3 separate regions of the Homo sapiens genome follow, and all the other regions are linked to region 1. The links are contacts of gene promoters, found by promoter capture Hi-C in human tissues and cell types (Jung and others, 2019). All regions are on one chromosome and are shown on one strand. The core of a region is centred on a gene start or on the middle of the fragment in contact, and the rest is flanking DNA. Distances in the headings are between cores, read along the strand shown.

What was found. The method cuts DNA at HindIII sites, captures the fragments that hold promoters and counts their contacts. A contact is called where the count stands out against the background at its distance.
Region 2: a contact is called between a fragment that was not itself captured here and the fragment with the promoter of GUCA1B in region 1, in 3 of the 25 tissues and cell types used here (adrenal gland, bladder and liver).
Region 3: a contact is called between a fragment that was not itself captured here and the fragment with the promoter of GUCA1B in region 1, in 2 of the 25 tissues and cell types used here (liver and spleen).

The regions. Positions count from the first base shown.
Region 1 is chr6:42,192,904-42,197,195 of GRCh38, reverse strand. GUCA1B (guanylate cyclase activator 1B) reads left to right here and starts at 2,240. Exons shown (of 4, transcript NM_002098.6): 1 at 2,240-2,582. The coding sequence starts at 2,376. The HindIII fragment of the contact is 9,949 bases long and covers 1-4,292 here.
Region 2 is chr6:42,298,848-42,303,139 of GRCh38, reverse strand. It overlaps TRERF1 (transcriptional regulating factor 1), which reads left to right. Exons shown (of 18, transcript NM_001395490.1): 4 at 2,391-2,502. Among named protein-coding and RNA genes, the nearest start is that of MRPS10, 83 kb to the right of the region's middle. The HindIII fragment of the contact is 6,848 bases long and covers 1-4,292 here.
Region 3 is chr6:42,280,137-42,284,428 of GRCh38, reverse strand. All of the region lies in intron 4 of TRERF1 (transcriptional regulating factor 1), which reads left to right. Among named protein-coding and RNA genes, the nearest start is that of MRPS10, 64 kb to the right of the region's middle. The HindIII fragment of the contact is 8,920 bases long and covers 1-4,292 here.

The DNA of each region.
Region 1 (4,292 bases), core at 991-3,490:
AGGCACCTGTAATTCCAGTTACTAGGGAGGCTGAGGCAGGAGAATCGCTTGAACCCGGGTGGCGGAGTTCACAGTGAGCCGAGATCGCACCACTGCATTCCAGCCTGGGTGAAAAGAGCAAAAACTCTGTTTCAAAAAAAAAAAAAAAAAAGAGAGAGAGATCAAGTACCTTTGAGGCCAGTGTATGGGATGGGCTGTTTATCCACTTGGAGGTCACAGTCACTGAAATGACTGACATGATGCTTTGAGACAAGCAGGGAAGTCACCAGTGAATGACAGTAATGAGGAGAAGTAAATAGTGGCAAGGAGTCAGATGTGGCTTCAAAGGGACTGGCCTTTTTTGGGGAGAAAAAAGTAAAAGGCCATTTGGAGGCAAGAGTTAGAAGCGAGGAGGACACTAGCCCTGTTATCTAGACCTTGAGGTGTGTGTGGGGGAGAAAAACCCACCACCACTTGAAAGGATGACAGAAGAAATCACATTTCTCCTTCAGGAATAGCAAGAAAGTTAAAAGAGCTTTCAGAGCTCAGTGACGTCTGGAGGCAGAGAACAGTGAGAGAGGAGGTCAGGCCTGGAGATGTGCAAAACAATTCAGGCTGAACACCCAGTGAGGGATGGGTAGGTTAAGGATAGATTCACTGGAACTGCTGCCTCTGAAGTCTTCTAGAAAAATGAGTGTCACTGGGCGTGGTGGCTCATGCCTATAATCCCAGCACTTTGGGAGACCAAGGCGGGTGGATCACTTGAGGTCAGGAGTTTGAAACCAGCCTGGCCAACATGATGAAACCCCATCTCTACTAAAAATACAAAAATTAGCTGGCTGCTGGGTGCATCAAACCAACATGGCACATGTATACCTATGTAACAAACCTGTATGTTGTGCACATGTACCCTAGAACTTAAAGTATAATAAAAAAAAAAAAAAGAAGAAAAAATAGCTGGGTGTTGTGGTGTGCACCTGTAATCCCAGCTGCTCGGGAGGCTGAGGCATGAGAATCACTTGAACCCGGAGGCGGAAGTTGCAGTGAGCCGAGATCACACCACTGCACTCCAGCCTGGGCGACAGAGCGAGACCCTGTCTCAAAAAATAGAAATTTAAAAAAAAAAAGCAAAGAAAAAGAAAAATGTGTGTCCCTGGTCTTTTGATTTCTTGGAGGTGTCATTTTTATGTTACATTAAAATAAGCATGAATATGTAATTGTTCAAAAGCAAATTTTACATGACCTATAATGTAAAAGTAAGAGCCTTCAAAGATATTTTAGGCCATGCTCCCAGATCCTTCTCACATGTTAGTATTTTGGAGGAAATGTGAAAAAGGCACTACCCCTAGGTCTTGTGTGAAGGGTTGGAGGGAGGCATTTGTAGTTTAAATCAGAAAGTGAAAAGCTCCCAAGATGAAAGGTGTAATCTGGAAAGGAGCTTCAGGGACCGAGTTAGCCTGGGAAGAGAGTTGCTCACCTAGAGCCCTTCCCATCATAGATTCTGCCTCTTTTCACTAGACCGTCTGAGGGGCGAGTCCCAGATCACCAGCAGATTCTGTTTTATGGCCTAGGACTTGATCTCACTTCCTCTCTGGATTTGAGTCTCCTGTCTCCAAGATGGGCCTCCCTGAAGCAATGTGAGGCCCAGCTAAAGAGATAGGGAGTGAGTGAGATGGGAGGATCCCAGCCTAGCACCCCGACTCTTTCTTCACTCTGCATCTCTCTGCTTACCTCTCAGTTTCTTCCCCTTCTACCTCTTCAGAGTCTACCAGGGCCAGCTTGGTTGCTTTGTTGACAAGGCTAAGGGAAGGAGTGAGGCTGGAGGAGTTTAGGCTGGAGGTCAGAACTTCCTGGGGAATCTCTTTTTTTTTTTTTTTTTTTTTTTTTGAGACAGAGTCTCACTCTGTCCCCCAGGCTGGAGTGCAGTGGTGTGATCGCAGCTCACTGCAACCTCTATCTCCCAGGTTCAAGTGATTCTCCTGCCTCAGCCTCCTGAATAGCTGGGATTACAGGTACCCACCACCATGCCCAGCTAATTTTTTGTATTTTTAGTAGAGACAGGATTTCACCATGTTGGCCAGGCTGGTCTCGAACTCCTGACCTTGTGATCCACCCACCTCGGCCTCCCAAAGTGCTGGGATTACAGGCATGAGCCACCGCACCCGGCCACCTGGGGAATCTTCTAATAGTCTTAGGGCAGCTTAGCTGGCCTGGACCCACCTCCCTTGCCACCTGCCCCCTGCACCGACTGATCATGTTCAGTCACCCAGGAGATGATGGAGAGGCTGATCAGGCCTCCTGGAAAGGGAGGAAGAGGGCCCTAGTTGGAGAGATCCATCAGCAGAAGCCAGGGAGGAGATACAGACCCTTGCTCCCTGATGCTCCTCAGGGCTAGCATGGGGCAGGAGTTTAGCTGGGAGGAGGCGGAGGCAGCTGGCGAGATAGATGTGGCGGAGCTCCAGGAGTGGTACAAGAAGTTTGTGATGGAGTGCCCCAGCGGCACACTCTTTATGCATGAGTTTAAGCGCTTCTTCAAGGTCACAGACGATGAGGAGGCCTCCCAGTATGTAGAGGGCATGTTCCGAGCCTTCGACAAGAATGGGGTAAGGCACCCTGAAGGGAAGGACCAGTGGCCAGTCCACCTGGCGCCTTCCTCCACAAGTGTCCTCAGGGAGAGCTCCCAGTTCCCCACTCCTCGGCTCTTTCTCTGCTCTTCTTTCCACTCCGTCTCTCTTTACCTTTTCTGTCTCACTCACCAAACCCTTCTGTCTCTTCTCTTCCTTTTGTCCCTTTCCATCTTCTCTGTCTCTCCTTCCCTCCCTCCATCTCTTAGCTGTCGGCTGATGCTCCCTGTGTCCTCTTCTTGAGAGCTGAAGGGCGACTGGCAGACAGTCCAGGTCCTCTCTTTGTGTATTTTTGACCAAGACTCTGCAGCCCAATGACCGGGTTTTCGCATCTGCCAGAGCCCCTGTCACTCTAAACACTAGGAGCAAAAGAGATGTTCTAAATGAGACAAGGTATCTTAGCATGGGCTATGAGCTCCCTCTTGTTGGGGTTCTTCTGAGACTGGTCAGATCCTCCCTGTCAAGAATGCTGGAAGAGGCTCCTGCATGTATTGGGAGACTGGGCGAATGACTGCAAAAGCCCCTTTCAGCTCTTCAAGTCCTGGAAGGTTTCATTAAATCATTCAGACTAGAGTTTCTCTAAGCCCACAATGTCACTAGCAGCTAAGAAGATAACACATCTTGTAAATGCACCAGGGGATTGAATTTTAAATTTCAATTCAGTTAAAAACCCCTTGATTATTTAAGGTTATCCAGTTCAGTGCCCTGGCAATCCTCAAATACCTCAAATACCTCAAATGCCCTGGTATTTGCCTCAAATACCAATTTAATCTGAAGAAAGTGTCAGTTCTCCATTCCTCAGTGCGTGGAGAACTTAGCTTTCTAAGCTGAATCACTGGGAATGCCACTTCAGGTCTCATCCTGTCGCTGGTACCAGTCAGTGCACGTCCCCACAGTGCCTGTCCCGGGACAGGAGGGTGAGGTCAGCACCTTCAATTCAACAGAACCTCCTTAGAGATGAACCCCATCGACCACCCCACAGGGCACAGAGCCAGTTTCGGACTTCTCAGCGCTCCGCCTCTCTTAGGTCTCCTCTGAATCAGCAGCAACCCTGGGTGGGAGGGGCAGACTTTTGTTATTCCAAATTAAATGATGAGAAAGCTGGGCAAAAGGGAATGAATCGATTTGCCCAAGGTCTTAAGTGCTCCTGCCTAGAAGGCAGGTTTTTTAAAGAGAGAAGATGACTTTTTAAAATAATTGATGTTTTTTTAAAATGTAAGAAAAGTAAACAAATATATCAGGTCATAAATAATAAGACTCATTTAAGTCCATCAATCTTCCCCAGATTCATCTAAAAATCAATACGATCATGATTCAAGATCCAAAGGGCTGATTAAGCCCCTAGGCATATAGTTGTACTCCTTATACCTCATCTCTTCTTATAAATCGGCATATGATGTTCATCAATGTTTTTTCCTTTTTGAATAACTTTTTAATTTTACTATGATTCTAAATTTACAGAAGAGTTATAAGAATGATACAAGTAACTCCCATATGCAATTTATCCAAATTTCCCCAGTTATTCACATTTTATATCATTTACTTTATCATTCTGCCTCTCTCTGTATACATACATATATATAATGTATCCTATAAGTATATATACATATACATGATACATAATTTATACATATACTTTTTTTAAGAGAAAGCTATAGATATCATGCCCGTTTATCCCTAAGTATTTCA
Region 2 (4,292 bases), core at 872-3,371, 110 kb before region 1:
GATGGGTGAATGGATGGTTAGATGAATGGATTGAACTAGTTAATTTCATTTCCTTTCCCTTAACTCCAGCCAATAATCTCTTCTTAGGGAATTGTAATTATCTGTTTATATGGTTCTCTTGAGCCTCTTTGAAGAAGAACCTGTCTTTAGAAGCCCTGAGTCTAGCTCCATGCCTGACTTACAATAGATGGCTAATAAAAGTTGGCCATATGTTGTCTAAGACAAACTCTTGCCCATAAGACAAGCAGTTCCAAGAGCTCACGCCTCTGCAGAGAGGACCCTAGAAAGTTGTTTTCATACATAGAGGGTTAGGATGGTGAATTTATTCACAGAAACGGAATGAAGTGCATTCCTGCTTCCCACCCGTGCCATGCTTAGCTCCTTGGTAAGGTCTGCTATTCAGGTTGCCAGTTACTGTACTGACTTATTTGTACATAAACAGTTATTCCCCATAACCTTCCCTTTGCCAACATTCAGAGATAATGATACACAATCTTTGTAACATTACAGATGTTGCTTCAAAAACACTCTGTTGCTATAGGAATGTTTGTGATGTGCTTATCGCTAGAATTTCATGAGCAACAAACTCCAAAATTGCAGATGATTTAACATTTGAAGCAGGGAGTTGAGAGTGTATGTGTGTTTGCATTTAAAAAAACAAAACAAACAAGGCTTTGAAAAAGGAAGTTTTCTTCTGCAGAGTTATCTTCTTCTAAAGCTTAAAATAAGAACTACTTAAAAGCAGCGAATTTAGAAGAATGAGCACTTTCTCTTAAACATTCAAATGGGTGAAAATGACTTGTAATGCCTCCCTCAAGTATTAAGGAAATAGGCAGTTAAAGGTTTTTTTTGGAGCTAGCTGTCACAGACAAAGGATTTCTCATTTAAAAAAAAATCATTTTATAGCATTAAATAGTAGGAATGCATACCAGCAGCCCTTTTGGCATCTTGAAAATGATTTATTTTCTGAAATGTCCCAGTGCATTTTAATAGATGACTCTTTGTTCTTCTCATTCAGGGAGGGAGCTTCAGGCGGGGTTGCCATAGTTAGGGTTGGGAAGTTCAGGGTGGAGGCAGACAGGGCTCCAGGAACAGCTTTCCATGAGCCTCACACTTTGTTACCTGAACACAGCAGGTGGGTGCCACCACCTATCTCCAAACAGCATGGAGCCACACTTTCCCAAAGCTCCTGCTGTGGTTCTCCTTCCCAAAGAGAGACTCTCTGAACTAACTTTTTATAGTCCAGAGAGTGAATTTGAAATCATTTTTCTTTCTAGCCTCCCTCTCTGAACATATCAGCTAGACATCTTAGGAAAGGTGTGCAATGTGGAAGTCTCTACTATAGCAATGCTGCTACTCAGCTGTGGCTCAGGAGTGGTGCTCTCTGCAAACTCTTTAGCGGTCCATGAGATAAGTTCAGAAATTGAGTCGGTGCTTAGTAACTTTCATGCCGATTTGACAGAATAATCTGTTGAATCAAAGAACTTAAAAGTGAGCTTGCACTTTGTATCAGTATCTTTTCATTTCCTTTTTCTAGCAGTTCATTTTTACTATATTTTATTAAAGTAGTCATCTCTAATGGTGTGGAAAATTTTTTAAAAACTGGTCCTTCGGCTGGGCACGGTGGCCCACGCCTGTAGTCCCAGCACTTTGGGAGGCCGAGGCGGGCAGATCATGAGGTCAGGAGTGCAAGACCAGCCTGGCCAACATGGTGAAACCCCGTCTCTACTAAAAATACAAAAATTAGCCAGGTGTGGTGGTGGGCACCTATAATCCCAGCTACTTGGGAGGCTGAGGCAGGAGAATTGCTTGAACCTGGGAGGCAGAAGTTGCAGTGAGCCAAGATCACACCATTGCACTCCAGCCTGGGCAACAGAGTGAGACTCTGTCTCAGAAAAAAACAAAACAAAACAAAACAAAACAAAACAACTGGTTCTTCATGACAAATAACTTGAGAAGCTGTATGCCAAGGCACCTGTAAGCTGCTGTAGCTCCCCCATGAGGAAAGTCAGCTGTTGAATGGATTTGGGGAATCACAGCACTTAGCAAATGATATTATAATGAAACTCAGATCTCTCTCTGTCTCTCTATATCTCTCTGTGTCTGTCTGTCTGTCTGTCTGTCTCTCTCTCTCTCTCTGTTTCCTAAGTGTAGAGACTGCATCCAGTTCATCTCCATGGCCTCATTCCTCAGTGCCCTGCCTGGCACATTGCAGGCCTTTGGAAATGTTTGTTGAATGCATGCCTGTCTGCTTCCTCATTACCTAAGAGTAGGTGAGGACAGCCTCGGGAATTTCCCTGGGATTTCTGGTAGTGTCTTCTGCAGGATGGTGATGAAGAGCTAGGAGCAAATGATGAGGAAATGACCTTTCCTTTTTCTTTTCCCCACAGGACCAGGCCTCCTCTTCCCACCTGTCCAGCAGCATGAAAGCAGCATGATTGGCCGACCGCAGGAGAAGCCCCCAGAACCAGGCCCCCAACTCAGCCATCTGCGGAGGTCAAGGTGAGCTTGCTTTCCTTCTTCTGGAAGGCTGAGGAATTTTCATTTTCATTTTAACACTTTCTGTATGCATTTGTAATCCCTTGCTATGTGCTAGAAGAATGAGGTTTCCTGGGATGAGGGTAGACTTAGAAAGTGCATGTCACTTTACAGATTAAAGTGTGCTCATTTTGGTTAAAGGAGAGGCTGATATGGAGCAGAAAGGACTGAGTTGAGTGTCTAGAATGGAGCTCTTATTATTCTTCCACCACCTCCTGAATCTGGGACCTTGGACAGGTCTTACAGGATGGGGTATCCAGGGAATTTTGAATGAAAAAATCTCTGAGACAGGATAGAATGGGAAAGATTACTCAGTCCACGACCTGAGAGTCCCAGTACCTGCTAGACAGACTTCTGTCCCACACAGAGTCATAAGGGGCCTTAGATGATCAGTCAGGCCAGTTTCCAGCCAGTGTTGGACAGTTAGTTGTTAGTTCTGTCTGCTGGTCTCTGCTCTGCCATTAGGAACCACAAAGACTTGGCTTTCAAAGACTCTTCCACATGCCTCTCTCACTGGGTTTGAAGATTTGAAGATTTGGCTGTCATGACTCCGTCTTTCTTTTTTTGGTATAAATTCTCCCTAGAGACTGGTGCCAGTCACCTTGTCCTCTCGTCCCCTCTGTGTTGGAAAGGGCTTTAGTTACCTCCAGCGTCTGCCTTGCTGGTTGCTCATGCAACCTGCACCATCTTCAGTAGAGAATCATTCATTCACCATTCGTTCTTCAGTGGCTATTTACAGCCTCCTTTGTGACAGGCACTGTGCTAGACTCTGGAGATATATCAATGAAGAAGAAAGACAGGGTCTCTGTCTTTTAAGACAAAATAGGTTTAGATCCTTAGAGTTTGAAATATGCATTGAACTACTTCCGTGGGCTCCTTTTTTACATTTTTATCTCTGCAACTTTTTTTCTTAAATGTCCCATAAGTGCTTCAAAAAACATCTTTAAATATTGGATATAGTTTTCTATATATCATCATTGAAAGATAAGTTAGCTTATTGTGCAGCTCAAATCATCTATAATATGTTCTTTTCTGATTTTGTCTGATTATCTATCAATTATTGAGAGAGGTGTGTTAAAGCCTCCCACTGGATTTGTCAGTTGCTCCTTGCAATGCTGAAATTGTTGCTTTATATGTTTTGAGGCAATACTGTTTGGTGCATAGATGTTTAGAACTGGTGTATTTTATTGATGAATTGGGATTTATTTCTACCATCTTTACATGCATTTAATTTTTTCTGCTCTTTCTTTTAGGTTGAGGTATTTTCCCCCCTCATTTCATTTTCCATCTTCTTATTTGTAACTTGCATACTCTATGTCTGTTATTTCTGGGGTTACCCAGCTAGCTACCTGGATAGATGATAGATAGATAGATAGATAGATAGATAGATAGATAGATAGAAAAAAACAGACTCTATGTGTGTTTTTTCAGGGGTTATCCAGCTAGCTAGATATATATATATATGTAGATAGATAGATAGATAGAGACAGACAGACAGACAGACAGATAGATAGATAGATATTTTTAGAGACAGGGTCTTGCTCTCTTGCCCAGGCTAGCTTCAAACTCCTGGGCTCAAATGATACTCTCACCTCCTCCTCCCGAGGAGCTACCTTAGCTTTTTTTGTTTGTTTGTTTTTTGTTTTGTTTCGTTTTGTTTTTGAGACGGAATCTCTCTCTGTTTCCCAGTCTGAAGTACAGTGACACAATCTTGGCTCCCTGCAACCTGCACCTCCTGGGCTCAAGCAGTTCTC
Region 3 (4,292 bases), core at 1,177-3,676, 87 kb before region 1:
CAAGCCACCAAAAGAGAATTGCTGCCAAATTAGGTGTGAGCAAGACAACTATTAAAGACTGGCACTGTGGTGCCGTGGCTCACGCCTGTGATCCCAACACTTTGGGAGGCCAAGGCATGAGGATTGCTTGAGGCCAGGAGTTCAAGACCAGCCTGGGAAACAGCGACACCCTGTCTCTACAAAAAAAAAAAAAAAAATTAAAAATTATAAAGATTGACACTAGAGGGAGAAGAAAATAAAAGCGTGTCAGAGGATGCTGCACTACAATTCCTTTACCAGGATTCTCTACTTCTGGCTCCTTTTTAAAGAAACCAAACTGAAAAAGTATAGATTATGCATCATCAGTGGTTTATGCACAAATGATAAATACAGAGCTCTATTCCACAGATCTATGAGCAAAGAAAAGTTCTGGACCCTGCCTCAAAAGACCAGTAAGATATTTGTGTTTTAAGTTAAAATAAATTCATAAGGCATTAATGTACTGCAATTAAGTGCACATAAAGGTTTTTTTTGGCCAGGGTGCAGTGGCTCACACCTGTAATCCCAGCACTTTGGGAGGTCGAGGCGGGCAGATTGCCTGAGGTTGGGAGTTCGAGACCAGCCTGACCAACATGGAGAAACCCCGTCTCTACTAAAAATACAAAATTAGCCAGGCACGGTGGCGCATGCCTGTAATCCCAGCTACTCGGGAGGCTGAGGCAGGAGACTCACTTGAACCCGGGAGGTGGAGGTTGTGGTGAGCCGAGATCGTGCCATGGCACTCCAGCCTAGGCAACAAGAGCAAAACTCCATCTCAAAAAAAAAAAAAAAAAAAAAAGTTTTTTTCATATGTTATTCTATCTGGGTTTTTTTTGTAAGTAATGTATTCACATGGTTCAAAAACACAGAAAAATATAAAAAGTTATAAAATGAAAAATCTCCCTCCTGCTCTTTTCCCCAATTAGCCCAGTTTCTACCACCTCCCTGCAGACAACTATTATTAGTTTCTTGGATCCTTCCAGATTTTCTTTATGAATATATATCAATTATAAATACATAGTTGACCCTTATTATTCACAGATTCCATATTTGCAAATTCCCTACTCTCTAAACTTATTTGTAACCACAAAACCGATGCTCAGTGCTTTCTTGGTCATTTGAGGACAGGCACAGAGCAGTGAAAATTTTGAGTCGCCCGATGCATGTTCCCAAGCTGAGGTTAAACAAGGCAACTCCACCTTCTTATTTCAGCTCTCCTGCTGGACACAAGTGTGCTTTTTTGGTGTATTTAGTATGGCATTTTTCATATTTTTGTTGTTTTTGTTGTTGATTTCACTGTTTGAAATGGCCTCCAAGTGTAATGCTAAAGTGTTGCCTACTGTTCTCAGCACGAGAAGGCTGTGATGTATGTGCCTTACAGAGAAAATGGGTGAATTAGATAAGCTCCTTTCAGGCATTAGTTGTAGTACTGTTGGCTGTGAGGTCAATGTTAATGAATGAAAAAAATAGATGTTAAATAAGATATCCTTTAAGCAGACACATATAAAACAAGGTTATATACTGATCAGTTGACAAAAATGTTGCAACCAGGGGCTTGCAGGAACCTAACCCTGTATTTCTCTTAGGAGCAGTGGCTCAGTATTCACTAATTCAGTGATCATAGAGACTTTATAGGATGTAACTACCACAACTAACAAAAATCAACTATCTATATACCTACATATGTATATATTCTATTTTAACCATTTTTTACACAAAAGAGAGCATACTGAACATACTGTTCTGCATCTTTCTTTTTCACTTAACCTTGGACGTCTTTCCATTTCATTTCATAGAGAGTTTCATTGTTGTTCTTTTGGATTTTTTGTTTTGTTTTGGTTCGGTTTGTTTGTTTGTTTGTTTGGGACAGGGTCTCACTCTGTCACCCAGGCTGGAATGCAATGGCGCCATCATGGCTCACTGCAGCCTTAACCTTCTGGGCTCAATTGATGCTCCCACCTCAGCTTCCCAAGTAGCTGGGACTACAAGTGTGCACCACCACACCTGGCTGATTTTTGTATTTTTTGTAGAGACAGGGTTTCCCCATGTTGCCCAGACTGGTCTCTAACTCCTTGGCTGAAACAATCCTCCTGCCTCATCCTCCCAAAGTGCTGGGATTACAGGCATGAGCCACTGTGCCCAGTCTCCTTGTTAGTTTTAACAACTGCATAGTATCCCATCCTGCGGTTATTCCATGATTTCCTTCAATCAATCCCTTATGGTTAGGCATTTGGGTTGTTTTCAGTCTTTGGCTTTTCTAGCAATACTGCAGCATACACACTTGTCTACATGTCATTTTCTATGAGTCTCTGCTTTAACCAACTCCCTAGAAAGGGAATTCTGAGGGCAGTAGTTCAGCCTGGCCAAACTGACACATAAAAAGCATCACACCTTCCTCTACTCCTGGGTATGTATCCTAAAGAAATTCTCACAGATGTTCCTAAGGGGATGCATCTGAGAATGTTCATTGCAAGGTGTCATTGGGAGGTTGGTAAGGTAGTTAAAGGTGATGGATGCACTTACCACCATGTGGGGTTATTGGGAGGGGCTTCTGAGGGACTTGGCACTGTGCCTAGCCTGGGGTTAGCGCCCAATGCACGTTAGCCATCGTTGCTGTTCTTCCTTCCTGTTTGCGTAGCAGCATCTTAATCCAGCTCATCGATGCCACGCTGGGTGTCCCTCCTACAGCCACCCCTCTGTGACCCGCCTCCACACAGGGCTGGAGGATCCTGGCAGAGTCTGGGCACTCTTAAGCAGGCATCCTGGATGTAATTCTGGACCACCTCAGCTGGTCTGGAGAAGGGGATTGGCTCCTTCACTTTCTAATAGTTTACCATGCACACAGGGTTGATATTTGACAAACTTGTTTGCTGTGTTCCATAAACATTGAGTGAATCTGCTTTGGCCAAACACTGCTCGTGGCACAGTGGAGAGAGAGGGAGAGATTTTAAAAAACAGAGCTATTAAACACAATTCTGTTTCTATGGAACTGGATATCTAGTATTGTTTGAAAAATGAAATACCTGAGGTGACTGAGCTTGGTGGGGTAATGTTTCCAACAAACAGAAGTATGCGTGTCTGGGCCTGTAAAACCTTTAGCTAGGATTTGGTCCTCACACTCTCCCTGCAGCCCAGGCTCCGGGGCCGCATTTCTGTCTTCTTGGTTCAGCTGCAGGGGTCCCCTAGCAGCAAAGGGAAGTTGTTTTGGCAAGAAATTGGGACTGTGAGATAATGGGGGCCAGTGACCAACAGGATATCTGCCTTGAGCAAGTCCAGACAGGTTTGGGGGCTTCCCAGGGGAGCATGAAGATTGCCAGAGGAGGAGCAAACCCAGAAAGGGCAGGACCCCTCTTTATCCCCTGAGGCCTCTCAGTAACCAGAAGCCAACCTTCATCATCCCTCCCACCGTCCACATACAAAGCACCAGACAGTGGGAATCTCAGGTGAGGGGGAATTTCACTTCCAACTTTATTCCATAACACTGAATTCTTAGAAGCATTTATGAATTAAAACATACTGTTTTTCTTCATCGTGGCATGCTGTGATTTGGAACAAGTTTGGAACCAGGTCCTCCTGACAGACTTTCTCTGCAGCTCCCATGGACTTGCCTCTCAAGGACATCTTCCTAATTGGCTTCCAGGCCTCCTCCCTCACTCCTTCCTTTCCCCGCCCTCAGCAGCCTCCTAAGGGCCCCGAGAGCCTACACAGGGTGCCATGAGGGTGAGGCTCCCCCTGGACCCTTGAATGAGGAGCCTCACTCATCTGCCTGGGAAGGCTGGCCTCCCATAGCACCATGAAGAACAGGGGAGATGTCGTCAGGCACGGCCAAGTGGCTGGGCTGAACCCCGAGGGCTGCAGGGCATAGAGGCTTCTTCCTGGCTGCCCTGGGTCAGTGCCTCCTGAGCACTCACTCACACTGTCAGGGGAGGCATGAGCTGAGTCCCGGAGACGAGCAAGTGAGCAAGCGAGCCAGGGCTCCCCCTGCCCTCCCTCAGAGCACGAACTTGCTGGGAGATGGGTACCTGAGTGAGGCTCACCATCCCCCAGGGCTTCTAGAAGGAGGCCAGAACCGGATCCTCGGAGGCCTGGAGGAGGGAGCGACTCAGGAAGTCCTGCTGGAAGGCCTCCAGCCCTAGTTGCCAGAGGTCCCCTCGGGTTTGTTTGTTGACTCCCAGAATTCCCCAAAAGACCTTAGAAGTCTGAGCAAAAGGGACTGTGGCTTGTCCGAGCCCCCTTATCTTAAAAGCGAAAAGCTTGGGACCGTGGCATTGCCC